2 separate regions of the Homo sapiens genome follow, and region 1 is linked to region 2. The links are contacts of gene promoters, found by promoter capture Hi-C in human tissues and cell types (Jung and others, 2019). All regions are on one chromosome and are shown on one strand. The core of a region is centred on a gene start or on the middle of the fragment in contact, and the rest is flanking DNA. Distances in the headings are between cores, read along the strand shown.

The links. Contacts are between HindIII fragments. The study calls those that stand out against the background at their distance.
Region 1: a contact is called between a fragment that was not itself captured here and the fragment with the promoter of ITGAD in region 2, in 1 of the 25 tissues and cell types used here (dorsolateral prefrontal cortex).

Annotation. Positions count from the first base shown.
Region 1 is chr16:31,237,480-31,241,909 of GRCh38, reverse strand. No RefSeq gene overlaps it. Among named protein-coding and RNA genes, the nearest start is that of ITGAM, 20 kb to the left of the region's middle. The HindIII fragment of the contact is 6,547 bases long and covers 1-4,430 here.
Region 2 is chr16:31,390,619-31,394,670 of GRCh38, reverse strand. ITGAD (integrin subunit alpha D) reads right to left here and starts at 1,336. Exons shown (of 30, transcript NM_005353.3): 1 at 1,280-1,336; 2 at 330-435. The coding sequence starts at 1,310. The HindIII fragment of the contact is 7,632 bases long and covers 1-4,052 here.

The DNA of each region.
Region 1 (4,430 bases), core at 1,410-3,909, 150 kb after region 2:
GAGGTCAGGAGTTCAAGACCAGCCTGGCCAACATGAGTGAAACCCCATCTCTACTAAAAATACAAAAAATAGCCCGGAGTGGTGGCGTGAGCCTGTAATCCCAGCTACTCGGGAGGCTGAGACAGGAGAATCACTTGAACCCAAGAGGCGGAGGTTGTAGTGAGCAAGATTGCACCACTGCACTCCAGCCTGGGAGACAGAGCGAGACTCCATTTCAAAAAAAAAACAAATAAATAAAATAAATCTTTTAGGGACAAGGGATTTTCCCACCAGGTAGAGCAGCAGGGATGTTGACCCAAAGAATCCATGCTCAGGACCCAGGTCCCACCCTGATGGAAGGAGCTTGCAGTGCCAAGAGAGTGTGTTGCCATCACTCAGGCACTGTGAAGGCACAAAAAAAATGCCCTGTGCAGATGACACTTAAGCCAAAGCTGTCCAAACATTTCCTCTGTAACACAAGGAGAAGAACTCCATAAACAGAGTTGAAGGACAAGCTGTCAGATTAGGAGAAAACACTTGCCACACATGTATGTAGCAGAAAAAAAAAAAAGTATGCAGATATATAAAGAACCACAATAACTCATGAAGGAAAATAAGCAGCCGGGCGCACGGTGGCTCGTGACTGTAATCCCAGCACTTAAGGAGGCTGCGGAAGGTGGGTCACTTGAGGTCAGGAATTCGTGACCAGCTTGGCCAACATGGTGAAACCCCTTCTCTACTAAAAATACAAAAAGCCGGGCGTGGTGGTGCGCGCCTGTAATCCCAGCTACTCAAGAGGCTGAGGTAGGAGAATTGTTTGATCCTGGGAGGCAGAGGTTGCCGTGACCCAAGATCGTGCCACTGCACTCCAGTCTGGGTGACAGAGCGAGACTCCGTTTCAAAAAAAAAAAAAAGCCAAGGCATAGGAACAGACCATTTTTAGAAGAGGAATTATAACTGGTCAATAAATGCATACAATGAGAAAAATATAAATTAAACTTTTAAAAAGCCATGTGATACTATTTATTTATTTCCCATCATGTTGGCAAAAAGAAATAAGAATTTGAGCTTGATAATATTGAGTGCTCCAGCATGGCCAACATGGTGAAACCCTGTCTCTACTAAAACTACAAAAATTAGCCAGGCATGATAATTTTAGCCAGGCAAAAATTAGCCTGAAATCCCAGCTACTCGGGAGGCTGAGACAGGAAAATCCCTTGAACCCAGGAGTCGGAGGTTGCAGTGGGCCAAGATTGCACCACTGCACTCCAGCCTGGCAGCCTGGGCGACAGAATGAGATTCTGGCTCAAAAAAAAAAAAAAAAAGAGTGCTGGAGAAGATTTGGAGAAACTATATTCTCGTACGGTGCTGTTTGGAATGCAAATTGATAGAATTTTTGTTTACAGCCCCAAAGCTGAGGACAAAACTGATTAATACAAAGCCCCACATTCTAAACCGAGCCGCAGACACACCCTTTAGGATTCCTAGTGAGAGAGCAGGTCCATCTTGCTAATTTCCACCCTCATCACCCACCTCAATGAGACAGCTGTGGTGGTTCCTCACCTGCCCCCACAGGGACGTCCCACACCTCAAAGCAAGTGAGGAGGTTGCTCCAAAAGAAGCCCTGACCAGCCTGGGCAACATACTGAGACCCCATTTCTACTAAAATTAAAAAGTGAAAATTAGCCAGGCAGGGTGGCGCACACCTATAGTCCCAGCTACTTGGAAGGCTGAGGCGGGAGGATCGCTTGAGCCCAGGAGTTGGAGGCTGCAGTGAGCTGTGATTGCACCTCTGAACTCCAGCCTGAGTGACAGAGACCTTGTCTCAAAAACAAACAAACAAACAATACAACAACAATTAAAAAAGAAGAAGAAGAAGCCCTTGTGGAGATTGGAGGCGGCTCTCCTGGGCTGCAGGAACCGGAAGGCTCAGATGAAGGCTGACAAGAGGTTCTTAGGAGAACCTGATGCAGGCCCCTGAGTGTGGCATCCACCAGTGCTGTCATCCAACCCAGAGGATTCTGGAGGAGGAACGAGAAGGTCCGGAGCAGCCCGAAGGGGCCAGACAGGGAGAGAGAGGAGGGCACGTCCTTTTGGATAGGTGAGAATAAATGAGACCCCTAGGCCTGGTGAATGCCAACAAAATGAGCGGGCTCTAGTGTTGTGGCGGCCCCTGCCCTAAACAGCTGCCTACCCTGGCAAAGGGACGGGCAGTGAGAGGCTGCCGGGAGTGGAATCCCCTGGGGCAGGGGCAGGGAGGAAGGACTGAGGGGTTGTCATAAGAGGCCAGCCAGAAAGCGTCTGCCTATACCACCTCAGAAGAAGCCAACACCTCCCAGGAGAGCACATGACAGGTGTCACAGATCATAGACACACCAATCATGTGTCACCCAGCCCCTTTTCCTCTGATTAACCTTGACCTTGAAGGAGCCAGCAGAGAGGAGTGGGGAGGGTTCCTTCACCACTTTAGGTCACCTTATTTATATTTACATTAAAAAAAAAAATACTGGGTCTCCTTCTAATTGCCCAGGCTGACACGTAGTGGCCCAATCATAGCTCACTGCAGCCTCCAACTACTGGACTCAAGCAATCCTCCTGCCTCAGCCTCCTGAGTAGCTGGGACCCCAGGCGAGCATCACCATATCCAGCCTTTTTTTTTTTTTCTGGAGAGATGGGGTCTCACTATGACTGGTCACAAACCCCTGGACTCAAATGCTTCTCCCACCTCGACCTCCCAAAGTGCTGGTATTATAGGCGTGAGCCACCGCGCCTCACCAGGTCTCTTTAAATTGGATGTGATATTAACTTTGGAACCGTGCTGGGCTTTTTTTTCATATCTGAAAATGAGACTCCCAAAGTGCAAAGCTATCCTCCCACCTCAGCCTCCCAAGTAGCTGAGACTACAGGCATGAACCACCATGCCTGGCTAATTCTTTTTTGAGATAGAGTCTTGCTCTGTCACCCAGGCTGGAGTGCAGTGACACAATCTCTGCTCACTGCAGCCTCTGTCTCCTGGTTCAAGTGATTCTCCTGCCTCAGCCTCCCGAGTAGCTGGGATTACAGGTGCCCACCACTGCACCCAGCTAATTGTATTTTTAGTAGAGACGGGGTTTCACCATGTTGACCAGGCTGGTCTCGAAATCCTCACCTTGGGTGATCCGCCTGCCTCGGCCTCCCAAAGTGCTGGGATTACAGGCATGACTCATCATGCCTGGCCAAAAAAATTTTTTTTAATTAAATTTTAAAAATAGGCCGGGCGCGGTGGCTCACGCCTGTAATCCCAGCACTTTGGGAGTCCGAGGCAGGTTGATCACGAGGTCAGGAGATCGAGACCATCCTGAAACCCCATCTCTACTAAAAATACAAAAAATTAGCCGGGCGAGGTGGTGGGCGCCTGTAGTCCCAGCTACGCGGGAGGCTGAGGCAGGAGAATCACTTGAACCTGGAAGGCAGAGGTTGCAGTGAGCTGACATCACACCACTGCACTCCAGCCTGGGTGACAGAGCAAGACTCTGTCTCAAAACATAAAACAAAACTACTCACTAAACTTGACAATATTACTTCTGATGAGGAGGAAAAAGAAATAATCAGCACTGGGGGTGTGGTCAAAGGAAACCTTCCCCTTATCTGTAAGATATAATTAAGTACAGACATGCGTTGTTTTATTGTAGTTCACTTTATTGCTTTTCATGGATACCGCATTTTCTGCAAACTGAAGGTCTGTGGCAACCCTGCGTCAAGCAAATCTATTGGTGCCATTTTTTCAACAGCACGTGCTCACTGCACCTCTCTTTGTCAGATTTTGGTAATTCTCACAATATTTCAAGCTTTTCATCATTCTTCTATCTGTGATGGTGATCTGTGATCAGTGATCTTTGAAGTTACTATTGTAATTGTTTTGGGGTACCACAAACCTCAACCATAAAAGATGGTGAACATAATGGATAAATGTGTGCATTCTGACTGCTCCACCAGTCAGTGGTTCCCCTCTCTCTCCCAGTCCTTGTGCCTCTTTATTCTCTTAGACACAACAATATTGAAATTAGTACAATGAGTAACCCTAGTGTCCTCTAAGTGTTCAAGTGAAAGGAAGGGTCATGTTAAATCAAAGGAAGCGTCATGTTAAATCAAATTATTAAGCTTAGCGAGGAAGGCGTTTCAAAAGCTGAGACAGAGGCTGGGCGCAGTGGCTCACGACTGTAATCGTAGCACTTTGGCAGGCCGAATCGGGTGGATCACCTGAGATCAGAAGTTTAAGACCAGCCTGGCCAACATGGTGAAACCCTCTCTTTACTAAAAATACAAAAATTAGCAGGGTGTGGTGGTGGGCGCCTGTAATCCCAGCTACTCAGGAGGCTGAAGCAGGAGTATCACTCGAACCCGGGAGGCGGAGGTTGCAGTGAGCCAAGATCATACCACTGCACTCCAGCCTGGGTGACAGACCAAGACTC
Region 2 (4,052 bases), core at 87-2,586:
ATTTCAAGAGGTCAAGGGCAGAACATTAAACTCCAAAGTTAATGAGTGTGGGCCCTGTGTGACCATACTGGCCCCAAGAAGTGGGCCCTGCCTGGGAGGCAGGTTCAAGGCTTCCCTCCCGAGGTAAGGTAGGGTCTTGTCTAGAGTTTTGTGGCCTTTCCTGGGATTGAGAATAATAGGTGCTGATGTCAGGGCCTCCAAGGAGCCAAGGGAAGACTTCTCACCCCTGCTGGCCTTCCTCCAGGACACCTCCCTGGGGTAACCCACGTGTACCCATCCACAGGACTTGATGTAGTGGAGGTTGGGGAAGGAGGGTGAGTGGGGCCTACCGAGATCCACCGAACTGCACCACGCTCTGCCCAAAGCCGCCTGCATCCTCCTGGAAGATCGTAGGCTCCTCCACATCCAGGTTGAATCCATGATAAGAAGCCAGGACTGAGGAATATTTGGTGGGCGGGGAGGCTGGGAGTTAAAGAAGCCCCAATCCCTAGGACCTCCCAGCCTCTTTTTCTTTTTTTTCTTTTTTTTTTTTTTTTTTTTGAGATGGAGTCTCGCTCTGTTGCTGAGGCTGGAGTGCAACGGCACGATCTCAGCTCACTGCAACTTCCGTCTCCTGGGTTCAAGCGATTCTCTTGCCTCAGCTTCCCAAGTAGCTGGGATTACAAGTGCACGCCACCATGCCCGGCTAATTTTTATATTTTTGGTAAAGATGGGGTTTCACCATGTTGGCCAGGCTGGTCACAAACTCCTGACCTCAGGGGATACGCCCATCTCGGCCTCCCAAAGTGCTGGGATTATAAGCATGAGCCACCGCACCCAGCCAAGCCTGATTTTTGATGGCACGTGAATGTGACTCTGATGCAGTTTTCAGCAGGGGGCCTCTTCCCTACGTGCAGTCAGGACTTGGGGGAAACAGGCCCAGGGAGGTGATGTCCAACCTTTCCCCCTCCCTGGTGGCTTCTGTGGCCTTCCACTCCCGGGGGAGGCTGGGGAGACCTCTGTCACCCACACCAGGGACTCCATGAGTGGGAGCAGGGAAGCCTGGGACAACATAGCCAGCTGGAGAGGTAGCTTAGTCGCCACCTGAGCACAGCCCCTGAGCCCCTCTTCATTCAGGTCACACTCTACTGACTCCGGGCCACTCGCACATGAAGCACTCCCCTGCCTCAGCTCCTCATAAGAGTGGTTGGAGCCGACCACCAGCCCCCAGCCTGCCCTCCCAGATGGAGTCCCCTCAGAACTCCTCCAAGCTTCTCCCCAGCACCCTGGCCCCACTTACCACTCAGAAGAAGCACAGTGCCGAAGGTCATCCCTGAGCAGCGCGTTGAGGGGAAGTGGAAGGTTGGGGACAGAGCACAGAAGGTGCTCACCCTCCCAGGGGGTAGTTAAAATAATGATTCAGGGCCTCCACACAGCAGGAAGAGGGGCACAGTGGGTAGGAGGGGCGTGGTTAATTATGGAACAGAAGTGGGGGCAGGGGCCAACAACACCCTGGGGAAAAACCCTCATTCTGTCCCCCTCCACAACCTGCAGGGACCTGGCTTCCTTCTCCCAGAAGACCACCCTCCCCCAGGCCTCAGGAGCCAGTTGGTACCCAGGGAGCCCCGTAGCTCTCTGAGGTCCCACAGGAGTGGAAGGACAGGAAGCAGAATGGCTGCAGAGGTCTTGGCATGTGGATGTGAGCCGGCAGAGAGGCAGGGAGAAGGGGAGCTAGGCCAGGGTGTGGTTTCAAAAAGCAGAGCCCCTCCAGAGGAGAATGGACACCCAAAATAATAAAGTCATGCCATGGGCTACTACTCAGCAAGAAATAAGATCAAACTACAGATCAGATGCCATGGCTCATGCCTGTGGTCCCAGAGCTTGGCAGGTGGATTGCTTGAGGCCAACAGTTCGAGACCAGCCTAGGCAACATAGCCAGACCCTGTCTTTACAATAAATAACAAAGAACAAACTGCAGTTCTGTACAACAATACAGGTTAACTCAATTTTATCTTAAGTGAAAGAAACCAGACACCAGAATGCCTAATGTCTGGTTCCTTTCATATACAAGAGAATGGGCAAAATTCATCTACGAAGATAGAAATCAGAAGAGTGGTTGTCTATGGTGGGGCAGAGAGGAAACTTTTTTTTTTTTTGACAAGTTTTGCTATGTCGCCCATGCTGGAATGCAGTGGCATGATCAGGGCTCACTGCAGCCTCAAATTCCCAGACTCAAGCAATTCTCCCACCTCAGCCTCCCAGTCACTGGGATTACTGATGCACACCACCATGCCCAGCTAATTTTTTTGTTTTTTGTAGAGACGAGATCGCACTATGTTGCCCATGCTGGTCTCGAGCTCCTGGACTCAAGCAATCCTCCCACCTCCTCCTCCCAAAGTACTGGGATTACAGGCGTGAGCCACCACATCCAGCCAGGAACCTTTAGCATGTGTTAAATTTAGCATTTAACACAATATTTTAATATTTATTACATGGGGTTGGGGAGAAGATAAATGAGTGGTTGTTATTTATTTTCTGTGATTTTTCTGTATGTTTGAAATATTCCATGATTAAACATAAAAGTTCCTTTAAAATGTGAAAAAGAAAAAGGTCTATATATAAAAGGCTAGGAATAGGCCAGGCGCAGTGGCTCACACCTATAATCCCAGCACTTTGAGAGGCTGAGGTGGATGGATCACCTGAGGTCAGGAGTTTGAGACCAGCTCTGGCCAATATGGTGAAACCCCGTCTCTACTAAAAATACAAAAATTAGCTGGGCATGGTGGTGCGCACCTGTAATCCCAGCTACTCAGGAGGCTGAGGCAGGAGAATCGCTTGAACCCAGGAGGTAGAGTTTGCAGTGAGTCAAGATTGCGCCACTGCACTCCAGCCTGGGCGACAGAGCAAGACTGTCTCAATAAATAAAAAATAAAAAATAAATAAAAAGCTTAGGAATATACTTTGAAGGTTAAAATATAACAAGATCCCTACCTATAACATAAATTATTTTGTATATATATGTGACAATTATTTAAAACATTTGGCTGGGCACAGTGGCTTATGTCTGTAATTCCAGCACTTTGGGAGGCTGAGGCAGGTGTATAGCTTGAGGTCAGGAGTTCGGGACCAGCCTGGCCAACATGGTGAAACCCCATCTCTACTAAAAATACAAAGATTAGCCAGGCATGGTGGTGCACGCCTGTAATCCCAGCTACTCAGGAAGCTGAGGCAGGAGAATCGCTTAAACCCAGGAGGCAGAGGTTGCAGTGAGTCAAGATCACACCACTGCATTCCAGCGTGGGCAACAGAGCAAGACTCTGTCTCAAAAACAAAACAAAATGAAACAAACAAAACATTTAAAATGTAATTAAACATCAAGTGCAAATAATATGAAATAGTTTTCTATACAAAAATTTTACATCAATTTACTTGAGAGCTGACATTTAATGGACAGAAGAAATTAATTGTGATGCATTAACGATGCCCTTGCAGGAAACCGAGCCGAGGGCTGTGATTGCTAACTTCGAGGCTGACTTATCTACTGCCTTACAAAGACTGCCCAGGCAAAGTGGAGCGGCAGCCTTCTCCCTCTTGTGCTGAAAGGTTTGTGGCTGGCCGCACCCTGTCATCAGTTCTGTGGATCTGTGAACTTCTCCCTGTATTTGGAACCACAAAATAATTTGTTGGTGATTCTTCATAATTCAGAAATTTAAAGAGCTCTTCATTTTCTCCATCTTCACCACACCTCATCTTTTACACATTTCTATATCCCCTTTAATTTTGGACTTCCTTCTGTAAGTAGTGCTTGAAACTCACGATTTGCTGATATCAGCAACTATAAAATTCTCCAACTTTCCCTAACTCGTATTATCGCTTGTCTCAGCAAAATTTTTTGTTTTCCACTCATGTTTGGAGAGCAATGATAAGGGCAAAATGCAGTAAGGTAGTCAAATGCTCACAATCACTGCACGCTGCCAGGAAATCATCTTTCTCCCAGGCCTGGAGCTGGAGCTGCCAAGGCTCAGAGTCCACAGCAGCTGAAGGTGATGCCCCCAAATTCAGGGCATCCTCTG